2 separate regions of the Homo sapiens genome follow, and region 2 is linked to region 1. Evidence: promoter capture Hi-C in 16 types of primary human blood cells and fetal thymus (Javierre and others, 2016). All regions are on one chromosome and are shown on one strand. The core of a region is centred on a gene start or on the middle of the fragment in contact, and the rest is flanking DNA. Distances in the headings are between cores, read along the strand shown. Region 1 holds the start of MRPS23 (mitochondrial ribosomal protein S23). Region 2 overlaps OR4D2 (olfactory receptor family 4 subfamily D member 2).

The links. The method cuts DNA at HindIII sites, captures the fragments that hold promoters and counts their contacts. A CHiCAGO score of 5 or more calls a contact.
Region 2: a fragment that was not itself captured here is called in contact with the fragment with the promoter of MRPS23 in region 1 in 1 of 17 cell types (total CD8 T cells); the score reaches 5.4 in total CD8 T cells.

Annotation. Positions count from the first base shown.
Region 1 is chr17:57,846,633-57,854,001 of GRCh38, reverse strand. It overlaps MRPS23 (mitochondrial ribosomal protein S23), which reads left to right and starts at 3,958. Exons shown (of 5, transcript NM_016070.4): 1 at 3,958-4,035; 2 at 4,592-4,762. The coding sequence starts at 3,992. RefSeq lists enhancers at 3,463-3,972, 3,648-3,977, 7,163-7,369. The HindIII fragment of the contact is 6,704 bases long and covers 1-5,207 here.
Region 2 is chr17:58,168,561-58,175,929 of GRCh38, reverse strand. OR4D2 (olfactory receptor family 4 subfamily D member 2) reads right to left here. Exons shown (of 2, transcript NM_001004707.4): 2 at 4,814-6,292. The coding sequence starts at 6,274. The coding sequence ends at 5,351. Among named protein-coding and RNA genes, the nearest start is that of OR4D2, 5.3 kb to the right of the region's middle. The HindIII fragment of the contact is 3,346 bases long and covers 1,341-4,686 here.

The sequences.
Region 1 (7,369 bases), core at 2,709-5,208:
CTTGCCAACTACGTCTAGGCTTGAAGGAGCAGGAGAGGGACGGTGGCTGGAACCTGGTGAGAGAGCTGTGATTTTATGTTCTAGAACTTTATGTTCCAGGAGGGAGCCCGCTGGCAGTACCAACTGGAATCCAGCCAGAAGCAGAGGGCAAGGAGCTGGTGGATGCAGGCCACAGAAGCCAGCCTCCCGAGGCACAGAACAGGGCGAAGGACGGCAGAGAGTGGGTGTGGAACTGCTTGGGCAAATGGGAACTATTCAGCACTTACTGATCTATGTTAGGGGCTGAGCTGTGTCTCCCCAAAAATCATATGTTGAGGTCCTAACTCCAGTACCTCAGAATGTGACTATAATAGGAGGTAGTCTTTAAAGAGGTAATTAAGTTAAAATGAAGTCAGTAGGGTGGGCCCTAATCCAATAAGACTGGTGTCCTCATAAGAAGAGATTAGGACAAAACCTTCCCACACAGAGGAAAGACCATGTGAAGACGTGGGAGAAGAAAGCTGTCTCCAAGGCAAGGAGAAACTAGCCAAGTGCAGAATAAACTAAACTTGCAGACACCTTGATCTTGGACTTCTGGCCTCCAGAATAGGGAGAAAATAAATCTGTGTTTAAGCCACCCACTTTGTGTGCAAGTGGTGTTAGGGCAGGCCTAGCAAACTTCATACAATCAACAAGCTATTCAGCACATAACTTAATATTTATGTATTTACCTCTCTGTCTTCCCTACTGGACCGTTGGATTCTCTAAGACTCAGAATAGTCAGGTAGGTGTTTATATGCTTCTGGAACGAACGGATCATCTAACAAGAAAGTAAAACAGTAAGGCAATCTATGAAATATTATCAAAATGCTGCAGTCCAGGTGGCAATGGGTGGATGACACAGCACAACAGCAATCGTGTTGCTGTTACAGCCATCAGGCTTGTTGCTGCTCACAGGCACTCACTATGTCCCAGGTGCCGTGATTAGTGCTTTACATGAATGATCTCTTTTACTTTTGCAACAAGCCACGAAGATAGTTGACACTGCCATCCAGATTATTATTATTATTATTATTATTATTATTATTATTATTTGAGACAGGGTCTTGGCTCTGTTGACCAGGCTGGAGTGCAGTGGTGTGATCATGGCTCACTGCAGCCTTGAACTCCTGGGCTCAGGCCATCCTCCCACCTCAGTCCCCTGAGTAGCTGGGATTACAGGCATGCACCACCACACCTGGCTAATTTTGCCCAGGCTGGTTTTGATCTCCTGGCTTAAGCAATCCTCCCACACTGGCCTCCCAAAATGTTGGGATTACAAGCATGAGCCACTGAGCCCAGCTCCACATTTTAACAGTTGGAGAAACAGAGGCTCGAAAAGTTACATAACTTGCTCAGAGTGAAGCAATTAGTGGGCACGTCTACAATGAGACAGTGGGATTAATATGAGGCCGAGTGGTGTTGTAGGAACATGGCCTTTGGGAGTTTACAAGCACCACTTCCTTATCTGTAAGATTAGCAGGACATTACCTATGTCAGCAGGTGGTTGAACAACTGAATGAGACACTTGAGGTTCCTTGGTACCTCCCGCGGCACAGTGGTGCGTGGTGTAAGTGCCCCAGGCCCTCACAGCCTTGGGCGGCTGTGGTCCCCACTCAAGAAGACAGCCTCAAATGTCCATTCTGCCTGCCCCCTGCTGCCCGACAGCTTGCTCCTGTATTATGAATGAATGTTTCTTGGGTGTGTACTTCTTGTGTAGCCTCAGAAGGCTGTTATCCCCAAAGTACCCCCAAGTCTGCCCACCAATATTCTGCTCTCAGTCACAGAAGCAGGCTGGAAAGGGAAACTTCAAAGGCTTGGAAGAGGAAGGGACCACCCCAAGATTAGCGAGAACATTTCTGCCTTGCAGTTCTTCCCCTATTGAGGGTTTGCGTCTTTGGTTCCCCTCCTTGATCTTGGAATAAACCCTTTAACTCTTTAGCTGCAGTGACTGCACTAACCTACAGTAGCAGTTCCTGGTGGGAGAAGAGAAGTGTGCCTGTAATCTGGGCTGGCAGATAGTGCTTGCTGGCTGGGACAGAATTAGAAAGTTGTTATGAGGCCTGGGAAGACTATATTTAGCTGGGAGCATGTTTACTCTCCCCAGAGCAAGGTCTTTTAGACCTCCTGAGGGCTGGGATACTAGAGCCTTTACACCTGGCCTGGGGCCAGAGCTGTGCTCTCTCTTCTCTGTTCCAGAGGGTCTGGAGGCAGCAGTGAAATCCACCTCAGGTTAGCCCTGGGCCTCAAATCACTGGATCCCTGGCGTGCGTGTGTGTGTGTGTGTGTGTGTGTGTGTGTGTGTGTGTTGTGGGGGGGGCGGGTGGGGAGCGGCGTTCTGCTGGACTCTTGAGCCTACCAGCCTCGAGCTTTAGGCATAGCTTAGGCGGCATTGTGAGGCACTGGAAAGGGCCCTGGCTGCCCCACCCCCCCAAGGCTGGCTCTATCAGTTGCTTATCAGACAAGTTATGTAACTTCCTGAGGCCTTGCTTTCTCATCTATAATGAGGATGTTAATAGCTACCTTATGGGAAGGTATGTGGATTCAGTAAGATAACACACACAAGCAGTAACTACTCATCAAACAGTCCCGTCCTCCCCTTCACCAGCCTCAGAGTGGGAGGACTCTAGGATGACTTGACTAGGCTCCCAGGAGACATTGTGTGTGATTCAAAACATTCATTGGATTAAAAGTTCAAATATGAATACAATCTCTTTACAAGTCAAACTCTGAAGCATGTGTAAAGGAAGAAAAAATTCTCCCTTGCCTGCCTGCAGTTTCACTCCGAGATATCCAATGTTCACAGCCTTGGGTGTCCTTCTGCAGAATTTCTATCCTCAAACACAAACATATATAGAGGTGTTTCTTTTTCCTTTTTTTTTTCTAACACGTTGAGATTCCACTAAACATGTTTCTTTGCAACTTCGTTTTTCATTTAAACATAAGTCATGTACCTTAACCTTGGTAAATACATGTGGATCTAGCTCATTCATTTTAATAGCTGCATAGGGTTCCAAAGAAAGTATGAACAATAATTTTCCAGCTATTTCTCATCTGATGGATTTTTTTTCCCACTACAAACAATGCTGCAACGATGATCCTTGCACAAACATCCTCATGAATTGATGCTTTAATTTCTAAGGGGTTCTTTCCCCGAAATATGATTACTGGGTCAAAGGGTATGCTACACACAGTTTATATTTTTTTACAGTTTAACACTGAGAGATGACTTTCTCCAGATTTTTTCGTTTCCCTCTCGGCGTCTGTTTGTTCCGGACACTTTCACTTTTCGAGTTCCAAGGAGGAGGTAGCCCGCGACACCGGCCGCGGGAAACACGAGTTGCAGCCAGCATCCTAGTTAGCGTGGATGCAGGTGGCACTCCGGGGACGAGGGGCTTAGTGGGGAGCACTACACAGCCAGAGGCGGAGGCCCGAGATCTAGCACGACGCTGGGCAAGTGACGGCCCCTCCCCGGCCTTGGTTTTCTTCTGCGTAGTCTGTGACTCTAAACAACATTAGGCTCAGCCTGGGCCTAGAGCTGGTGACCTCAAATCTCGGCCTTTGTTGGCTCCCCTAGGACTGTAGGCTGCGCTTCACCCCTGCTCTGCCCCACTACTTCTCCTCCGCGCGGCCCCACCTTTTCAGAGGAGTTGGCTCAACAAGGCGAGAGAGAGTAAAGCAACCATCATGATGAATCCCTCCCACAGCTCGGTCATTTATTACTTCTGTCCGGCTTTGGCTCGCTCCTGCCCTTTTGGCTCGGCTATCGAGTGCTCCTGCCTGAACCTGGCAAGTAACCTCGGAGCGCGCCCGTTCGGCCTATCACTTGCTTCTGCCTGCGCCGCTCTCCCGCAGGGGCTGCGGTGAAAGCCCAGCGATCCTTGGCTCGGCCAGCAACTTATGCGCCCTTTACCTGGAGCAGCCGCTTCCGGTTCCGGTAGCAGCTAGTCACGCTCGGTACCAGGCGCAGATCATGGCAGGCAGCCGGCTGGAAACCGTAGGGAGCATCTTCTCTCGGTGTGTGCTCCCAGCCGTGGTGGGCTGAGGGTGCCTCCCCCAGGCTGGGGTTCTCAGCCGGTCACGCTCTTCCTTGGAGCGGACCTGAGCAGGGCGAGGCGTATTGCAGGGTGCGGGGGCTGAGCTGGGTGAGGCCCTCTCATGTTTTCTCCTGGCTCCGAATAGTTGTGCCTGAGGATGCCTCTCCTTGAATTTATGTGTCATGTTAAAGATTATTGCAGCTGCCTCTCCCCGAGTGGAGGTCTCTAGGAAGAGGAAGGGAGGAAGAGCCTGATGGGCCTTCCTTATCAGGTCATGCAAGACCGCTCTTTGCATTTTTCCGTGACCGAACGTGGGTGGGACGCACAAAAGAAGATAGAGGGATTTAACTCTCCTGAGCGTTGTTAAGTTTGGTTTGGGATGTGGACAGATCTTCTCTGTAGGTGGGGAGCAGTCCTTCCCCGTTCTGTGTTGCAGACCGCATAATACCTTTAATGTCCCAAACTGTGCTAGACTGATTCAGGGGCTTTGGCAGGCTACTGCAAGTGACCCAGTTTCGTTCTGTTCCCTCCCTAAGGACTCGGGACCTGGTTCGGGCCGGGGTGCTGAAGGAGAAGCCCCTGTGGTTTGACGTATATGACGCCTTTCCCCCGCTGAGGGAGCCCGTCTTCCAAAGGCCTCGAGTGCGATATGGCAAAGCCAAAGCTCCCATCCAAGACATCTGGTACCACGAGGATCGGATTAGAGCGTGAGTGCTCAGCCCTGTAGTGGACAGGAGGCAACAGAACTTCAGAAGGGAAGGTTTCGGTAGCAGTCTGGGAATTCAAACATGAAATTGAGTCAGGGGTTTGCCCTGTGGAGAAGGCTTATCTAGCCAAATTAGGGAGGCAGCACCCCTTCCTCATAGTGAAACTGAAGTTCTGAAAAGTGGAATCTGGAGCCCAGCAACCGAAAGATCATTGCAATTATAGCCGCATGTTTCTGGGCATCTGCTTTGGGCCAGGCACTGTACTAAGCTCTTTGCAAGCATTATCTCATTCTCTAAAGGCCTTACTCTAACTTGTAAGGAAGGCATTCTTGTTTCCATTTTATTCAAGGAGACTGCGAAGCTCAAGGAAATTAGCTAACTTCTTGTAATTACTAAATATATAGGAGGGTGGCAGATCTGGGAATCACATCTCTGACTCCAAGCTTATGGTGATCATTATGCCGGCCTTCTCCACGAGTGGAGATAGGAGGAACGTGGTCTGTGGATCTAGTAGTCCGGCTCTTTGAAGCCACTCAGATGAAAGGATGCTTGAAAGTCTAAGAGAGGCCGGGTGCGGTGGCTCACGCCTGTAATCCCAACACTTTGGGAGGCCAAGGCGGGCGGATCACCTGAAGTCAGGAGTTCGAGACCAGTCAGACCAACATGGTGAAACCCCGTCTCTACTAAAAATACAAAAATTAGCCGGGCATGGTGGTGGGTGCTTGTAGTCCCAGCTACTCGGAAGGCTGAGACAGGAGAATTGCTTGAACCTGGGAGGTGGAGGTTGCAGTGAGCCGAGATCCCACCACTGCACTCCAGCCTGGGCGACAGAGAGAGACAATCACTAGGAATTTGAAGGAAAATCATGTGTTCTTTATTTTTTTTTAGCATCCCTTTTCTCTTTTTTTTTCTTTTTCTTAAGCTCAGTGGCAAGAATACTTCCTCTTTTATTATAAAAGCAACACATGCTACTTGTAGAAAATTTAGATACACAAAGAAAGCATAAAAAGAAATCACAGGCTGGATGTGGTGGCTTGTGCCTGTAATCCTAGTGCTTTGGGAGGCATAAGGGAGGATAGCTTGTGCCCAGGAGTTTGAGACCACCCTGGGCAACATAGCAGGACTTGTCTCTACCAAAAAAAAAGTAGTTGTCTTAGTTTACACTCTGATTAGCAGTTTCTGAGAGTTCTTACTTTATCCTTGTCAGTATTGATAATGATTATTTAAGAATTTTTTTTTTCTGGGCCAGGCACGGTGGCCCACGCCTGTAATCCTGGCACTTTGGGAGGCTGAGGTGGGCAGATTGCCTGAGCTCAGGAGTTCGAGACCACCTTGGGCAATATGGTGAAACCCTGTCTTGACTAAAATACCAAAAATTAGCCGGGCTTGGTGGTGGGCACCTGTAGTCCCAGCTACTTTGGATGCTGAGGTGGGAGAATCGCTTGAAACTAGAAGGTGGAGGTTGCAGTGAGCTGAGAGTGCACCACTGCACTCCAGCCTGGGCAACAGAGGGAGACCCTGTCTCCAAAAAAAAAAAAAGTTTTGTTTTTTTCTGATCTAAGTATTTTTTTTTTTTTCGAGATGGAGTCTCACTCTGTCTCCCAGGCTGGAGTGCAGTGGCGCAATCTCGGCTCACTGCAAACTCTGCCTTCCGGGTTCATGCCATTCTCCTGCCTCAGCCTCCTGAGTAGCTGGGACTACAGGCGCCCACCACCACAGCTGGCTAATTTTTTGTATTTTTAGTAGAGACAGGGTTTCACCGTGTTAGCCAGGATGGTCTCAATCTCCTGACCTCGTGATCCGCCTGCCTCGGCCTCCCAAAGTGCTGGGATTACAGGCGTGAGCCACCGCGCCCGGCCTCTTTATTCTCTTTTTTTCCAAAACTTAAATAGTCACAGAAAATGTGCTCCTAATGGTTGCCTAGGAACATTCTTTTTTTTTTTTTTTGAGATGGAGTCTCGCTCTGCCACCCAGGCTGGAGTGCAGTGGTGTAATTTCAGCCCCATGCAACCTCCACCTCCCGGGTTCAAGCTGTTCTCCTGCCTCAGCCTCTTGAGTAGCTGGGATTACAGGCTCACGCCACCATGCCTGGCTAATTTGTATTTTTAGTAGAGATGGGGTTTCACCATGTTGGTCAGGCTGGTCTCAAACTCCTGACCTCGTGATCCGCCCGCCTTGCCTCCCAAAGTGTTGGGATTACAGGTGTGAGCCACCGTGCCCGGCCTCCTAGCAACATTCTTAAAAATATCTTTAAAGTTCTCTATTTTTTCTTTTTTTTATTTTTTATTTTTAATTTATTTTTATTATTTTTTATTTTTTATAGTATTTATTGATCATTCTTGGGTGTTTCTCGGAGAGGGGGATTTGGCAGGGTCATAGGACAATAGTGGAGGGAAGGTCAGCAGATAAACATGTGAACAAGGGTGTCTGGTTTTCCTAGGCAGAGGTCCCTGCGTTCTTCCGCAGTGTTTGTGTTCCTGGGTACTTGAGATTAGGGAGTGGTGATGACTCTTAACGAGCATGCTGCCTTCAAGCATCTGTTTAACAAAGCACATCTTGCACCGCCCTTAATCCATTTAACCCTGAGTGGACACAGCACATGTTTCA
Region 2 (7,369 bases), core at 1,764-4,263, 320 kb before region 1:
GCCTGAGTGACAGAGTAAGATCCTGTTTCAAAAAAAAAAAAAAAAGTAAAGTTTGAAAACTCTTCCCATATATAGAGGTTCAAATCAGCATTTTATTGCCTTACTCTTAAATGTAGCTAACCAAAGATCACTGAGAGTTTAAGAAAGGTCTCCAGTACAAAATAATAAATAAATAAGAAGAAAACAGAAGTGACACAGAAAGCAAAAGAGAACTTAAAAAAACTTCAGCTTATGAAATTAGTATCATTTGAGAGAAGAAAGAAAATATAATATCCACAAAATAAGAATAGAATGGCATAAAAAGGAGAACATGCAAGAGTTCTTGAAAACTAAAATTTGATTTAAAAAATAAAAACTTTAATAAAAATGTTGGAAATCAGAGTTGGAGAAATCTCCTCTTAATGTAGAACAAAAATAGTGTGAATAAGGTGTCCATAGGATGTGGCCCAGCATGGGTTGTCAGAGCCTGGGTGTCTACTCCTGTGAGCTGCCCATTGTGGGTGTTAAAGCAAGGTGAAGAGGGTATCCCAGCAAGGGCTGACTCACTATGGGGAGTCAGAGCATGGGAGGGCTAAGAAATGCATCCACACAGAGGTGCAGTTGGACATCAGGTGTTGGAGCTCAAGCAAAATGAGGAGGAGCATGGAAAGTGTCCTGATGTGGGATGTTGGAGCATGTGTGGGGTAAGAAAAGTGGCTGGGAAGGGCGCTGGCCTGAAGCAGGATATCAGAGCCCAAGCGGAGTGAGGAAAGTATCTGGTGAAGGAATGGAAACAGATATGGAGTGACTAGGAAAGACTGGTTGCATAGAGAAGTGAATTACATAAATTATTATCTTAAATATGATGATGTCATAAAAATAGCAGTCTGGGAATCCGAGGGCTCATCTCTCCATAGAAAGGAAAAAAAAAAAATAAAAGCAGAAGTGATCAGAATCAACCTTGTTGGAATTCTGGAAAATTGTCAAAGAAAATAGTCAAATAGCAACTAAATGAACTTTGTTTCAAAAGGTGACTGAAACACAGTAGGAAAACTTTTAACTTATTGTTGTTCCACACTCCTCCCAGCTTGGTGGTCTTGAAGATGGCAATGTATGTTCCTGGTGTGAGTCCCTGGTTCCGGAAGGAGCAGAATGAACCTTGTTCCCTAGGATTGTATTGTCTGTTTTGAAATGTCTGGGGGTTCCTGAAGGACTGATGTGAGGAGCTTGCCTTTGTTTTACCTAACTCAGAATTCACTATGGGCAGAAAAGTGGCTACGTAAAAAGTATTCCTCAAAAACACTGAAAATCAAATGAGCACGCCTCTGCCACCTGGGGCAATCAAACACACACCAAAAGCTTGAGAGGAAAAGTTAGGAACAGAGATACTTTGGTGAATAAGAACTTTGGAAAGTTCCTGTATATACTATGAAATCTAGAATGCCACATTCTGCATATAAGGGCAGGATGAAAACACAGACTTGGGACAGTCCTAAGATATAAGTTCTGGCTAATCTTTAGGCCCAATGCAAGCAGAAAGTGAAGGCTAAGGCAGAGCTGTAAACATCCTTGTTAAGTGTTGAGGGAGTATCCAAACACAGAGCCAATCTGGAAAGACTGGGAGAGTATATTTTCTTTCTTTTTCATTTCTTTGTTGTATTAGTTCATTCTCATATTGCTATAAAGAAATATCTGAGACTAAGACTCGTAATTTATAAAGAAAAGAGGTTTAATTGGCTCATGATTGTGCAGGCTGTACAGGAAGCATAATGCTGGCATCTGTTTGGCTTCTGGGGAGGCCTCAGGAAACTTACAATAATGGTGGGAGGTGAAGTGGGAGCAGGCACTTCACATGGCTGGAGCAGGAGGAAGAGAGAGTAAGAGGGAGGCACCACACACTTTTAAATGACCAGATCTCATGAGAACTCACACACTATTGCAAGGTCAGTACCAAGGGAAGGATGGTGCTAAACTATTCGTGAGAAATTCATCCCCATGATCTAATCACCTCCCACCAGGCATCACCTCCAACACTGGGGATTATAATTCCACATGAGATTTCATGGGACACAGGTCCAAGCCATATCATTTGTCTACAGGCATTTAACAAAGTTACTGTAAAGCCATTAGATGACTATGAACTAAGGAAACAGATTTCAGAGGCCATATTTGACAAAAAAAAAAGTTTTAAAAGTCACTAAACAAACAACTGCAACTCACAGCAAGAAAAAACAACAAATAATAGGGAGCAGGAAGAAAATTATTTCCACTCCTACAACATTATAATATTTAAAATGTGCGGTTTTCACAAAATATTATGAGACATGCAAACAAACAAGAGAGTATGGCCCTTTCAAGGGAAGAAAAGAAATTAGCAGAAACTTCCTGAGAAAAAACAGACATTTGACTTAACTAGACAAAGACTTTAAAGCAACTTTCTTGAACATAGAGTAAACTATGGGTAAAGAATTAAAGGAAGAAGAATGTTTTACATAGAAAATATCAAAAAAGAGAGAGAAATTGATTTAAAATAAGAAATAGTCTGGAGCTGAAAAGTACAATAAAAGTAACTGAAATGAAAAGTTCACAGGACGGTTTCAATAGGAGCTTTCGAGTAGGTAGAAGAAAGAATCAGCTGGGCCTGGTGGCTTACACCTGTAATTCCAGCACCTTGGGAGGCCGAGGCGGGTTGATCACGAGGTCAGGAGTTCAAGACCAGCCTGGCCAACATGGTAAAACCCTGTCTCTACTAAATATACAAAAATTAGCTGGGTGTGGTGACACGCGCCTGTAGCCCCAGCTACTCAGGAGGCTGAGGCAGGAGAATTGCTTGAAACTGGAAGGCGGAGGTTGCAGTGAGCCAAGATCACACCATTGCACTCCAGTCTGGGCAACAGAGTGAGACTGTCTTAAAAAATAAAAATAAAATCAATGAATCTGAAGATAGGTTAGTTGAGTTCCAAGATTTCTGTTTGACATTTTGGAATCATTTCAGTCTCTTTGTTAAATTTCTAAATTGCTTTTCTGTGTTTTCTTGGAGATCAGTGAGTTTCCTTGAAACTCCTATTTTGAATTCTTGGTCAGAGAGCTCACTAATCACCATCTTGTTAGGATCAGTGACTGGATTTTTGCTTTTTCCTTTTGAGGAAGTCATAGTTCCCTGTTTGCTGTTGTTTCTTGTGGGTATGTATCCATCTTTCCAGTTTTCTCTGTACAGCTTGTTTTGGTTTTTATTGAATACATTTGCTTATTGAATCTTCACTGCTAGGTCACTGCCTCTATTCGACTCTAGGTGGTGCCTTAAGCCCAGGTTCACCTCAGGACTAGTAAATGGTTGAAGCACTTCCTGTCTCAAATCAAGGAGATCCCAAAGAGATTATCCTGGCAGTGTGGGAAGTCTGGCTAGGGGTTTGTGCCCAGGGGACCTGGGGAACATGCCTCCTACAGCATGGTGCTGCTGGACAGCAACTCTGAGTTGGTGTCTCCTTTGGCTGAGTTACAGAGCAGAATTTCTCTGCCTTTCTTCGGGGACATTTCTTCTTTCAGGCAGTCATGATGCTATCTGTGGATTAAGGCAAGAACAGTTCTCCTGCCAGGGACCCCAAGAAGGTAAGGAAGCTGGTGGGCCACCTCAATTTCAGTTTTTCCAGTGTAGAAACTGTAGTTGGGAGGAGATTTTTTGGCACTTGGTGCTGGACAGAATGGGGATGAGGGGTGTCCCAGATGTGGAAGTCTGATTCTCCTATCAGCTGCTTGGACTTTTTTCATCCCTCTGTGGCCCCAAGAACTGTCTCACTCTTATACTTGAGCTCTGGGTTGTTTCTGGTGTAGATCTCAGTGCTATATATTTGTTTTTGGTTCTGTGGAAGTCGGGGAGTGAATCCAATTTTCCTCTATGATGGCATTTCGGAATCAGAGGTCTAGAGATATTATAGGTCAATTGAAATCATCCAGTCTAAGGAGCAAAAAGAAGAATAAACGAAAATGAACATAGGCTCAGAAGCCTGTGAGACACCATCAAGGATACCAAGACACACACATAATGAGAATCCTGGAAGAAGAGGAGAGAAAGGCGCAGTAAAAATAGTTTAGGCAATAATGGTCACAACTCCAACATGGAGAAACCCCATCTCTACTGAAAATGCAAAACTTAGCTGGGTGTGGTGATGAGTGAACTCCGGCCTCGGCAGCAGAGTGAAACTTCGTCTCAAAAAAAGCACTCTCCAATAGCCAAAACCTGGAAACAACCCAAATAAACTTATTTTCACAGTGGAATATTCTACAGCAGAGCAAATGAATGAATTAGAGCCAAACATCAACATGTTATGTTAGAAACATAACATGGAGTGAAAAAAGCAAATCCCAGAATATTATGTACAGTACAATATCTTTATAAAACTCCAAAGTAGCAAAACAATATACTGTTTATGTAAAAAAAGTGATGAAACTATTTTATACAAGCAATGAAGTGATAAACATGAAATTCAACAGAGTGATTTCTTCTGGATAGGAATCAAGGTGAACACAATGGAGAGGACAATACAGGTGAAGGCAAGTTATTGGTAACTTCTGGTTCTTGAATCGAGTAGTGTATACATGAGCATTTATACATAATGACATAAGTTTCATAATGTGCATGCATTGCCCATGATCTTTTATTCAAAATTTGTATATTATATTAAAATGTAAATATAGAGAGAAAAAGCTTGAATACTCATAATAATTTCATATTTGAAAATAAAATACAATCATTTTTAAAAGCTTGGAAGATAACATATAGTTATATGATTTACTTGTTGTTTTATCACAAAATTTTTTTATTTGAATCTCATAACAAACATAGAATATTTTAGGGGCACATACTAATTTAAGCAAATTGGTGAGGGAGAAATCATGAGGCCAAGAAAAGCTGGGTGGCTTACTCGAAGTCATCAGTTTGGTCAATGATGGGTCAGGGCCTCTAATTTAGAGCTTAAGACTCCAAATTCTGTGCTGTTCCCAACAACCCAGACTCACACCAAAAGGAAATATTGGGAAGAGAGCTCAAAATACGGAAAATAGAAATGTTCGCACAGGGGAAATGCTGTCAACAGGAAACTGTCCACCAAGAAGGTGAAAAGGAAGGTGTGGTTTTCAGGGGCCATGTGAACAATTCTCATTGTTGCGAGTGTGTTAAAACTCTTTATCACAAACCTTAACCACCAAAGAGGATACTTTCTTTTTTCCTAAAACACGAAGTTGCTTAGTTTCAAAATTCATTCCCTGCTATGATGAACCTCAACACACTATGAAGAGAGCAAAGGTAGTAGCTCCCTCTCCACTTCACAAAGGGAAAACAAAGCCAAAGAGAAGAAACCTACCATTGTCACTCTCAAACCAGCCGGTGTCTCCCTAATCTTCTCACTGCTGCCTGCATGTCCTGGTTCCTCAGGGTATAGATCATGGGGTTGAGCATGGGGGTCATGACTGTGTGGCCGATGGACACAAGCTTGTCCATAGGGAATGGAGTGAAGGGCCGGGCATAGAGGTAAATGCTTGGAACGAAGATCATGGAAACCACGATGATGTGGGTGGTGCAGGTGGAAGCTGCCTTCCTTCTTGCCTCCCCTGGATGTGACCTCAGCATCACCAGGATGAATAAGTAGGACATCAGGAGGAGGAAGAACCAGACGACATCCAGCAGCCCACTGTTGGAGATCTTGAGGAACTCCAGCAGTGAGGTGTCAGTGCAGGCAAGTCTCAGTACTTGGGGAACATCACAGTAGAAGTTATCCAAAATGTTGGGGCCACAGAAGGGCAGTGGGAGCATCAGAGCCAGCTGGACAATAGAGTGGACAAAGCCTCCCACCCAGGTGGCTACCACCAGCCCCACCCAGAGCTGAGTGTTCATGACGGTGACATAGCGGAGGGGCCGGGAGATGGCAATGAGGCGGTCAAAGGCCATCACTGAGAGGAAGAAGACCATGGCACCTCCCAAAAAGTGGAAGAAGAAGATCTGACCCATGCAGCCCTGGTAAGAGATGGTTTTCTTCTCAGAGAGGAGGTCCACTAGCATTTTGGGAGCAGTGACTGAAGAGAAACAGAGGTCTAGGACAGCCAGGTTTCGGAGCAGAAAGTACATGGGTGTGTGGAGCTGGGAATCAGAGGTCACTGTGATGATGATAAGGATGTTTCCCATAACAGTGGTGATGTAGACAAACAGGAACATTAGAAACAGGAAACGCTGGAGCTCCCGAGTCTGCGAGAGCCCCAGGAAGACAAAGTCTGATACCCACGTGAGGTTCCCTGTTTCCATGGTGTTTTCTCCATACACCTGAAGAAAATGAACCACAGACACAGATACATGAAGTCACTACTTTCCCTTTCAGGGCTCAGGGGCTCAGAACCAAGGTTTTAGGCCCATATGATGAGCATCCTTATGTGTAGACCATTATACTAGGTGCTGTCTTGTCTCTGGATCGTTTACAAGTGGGTGCTGGAATATACATTCCTGAAATCTTAACGCCATCCAGAAGTATATACAACCTGCCTTTCAAAGATTCATATAGTGGTGGGAAGACACTTGGAGTCAGATACATCTGAAGTCAAATTTCAGGTCTTTCATTTCATTGTGATTTGACCATGAGTAACTTACTTAATCTTTCTGGGCCTCAGTTTTCACGGGAATTTGTAAGGTAGAAATAAAAATACCTGCTTTGTAGAATTTTCTGAGGACTTAAGTAGAATGATAGATATAAAGTTCCTAAAACAGTGTATGGAATAATCAATGGCAATTACTCACCTGTGTGAATTCTCTTAATCTAAAGATATCCTCTCTTCCACTCTGTAATAAGATTCTTTGCCAATTATTTTTCACATGACATTTAATACATCATCGTGTTAATGGATTTTCCTTGTCTATATTTTCCCTCCACAATTCAACTATTAAGTCCAAAGCCTATATCTGGATCTCACAATTTATTTGTGCCCTGCAGTACCCATTCTTAATGACAGTTAACTTAAAAAGCTCTTGGTGTTGACTGCTGCATGGGTGAATAGCTATCAGGTGCACAAGTTCAGCACAAGGAAGACACTGGATGCAGCTGGATGCCTGAGACATCCAGTAGTTCCCCTGCCCTCCACTGTGGGCGGCCCCTTATGAGTGAGGCATATGTGGTGGTGCTGAGACAAGAGGGAGAAAAGGGAGGGAGAGTCATTGGATTGAGAAATAGATGATGAATATTGTATGAAGGGGACTCAGAGAGCTTCTGAATGAAACAGGAATTTTACAAGATGTTACTGAATCCAAGGGTGGGAGACAAAGGAAGTTGTTGAAAGAAAACAAATAGAAATAGACAAAGGAATAAAGGGAGATGAAGGAATAGAGCAAGTGAAGGTAAAGGAAGTGGAA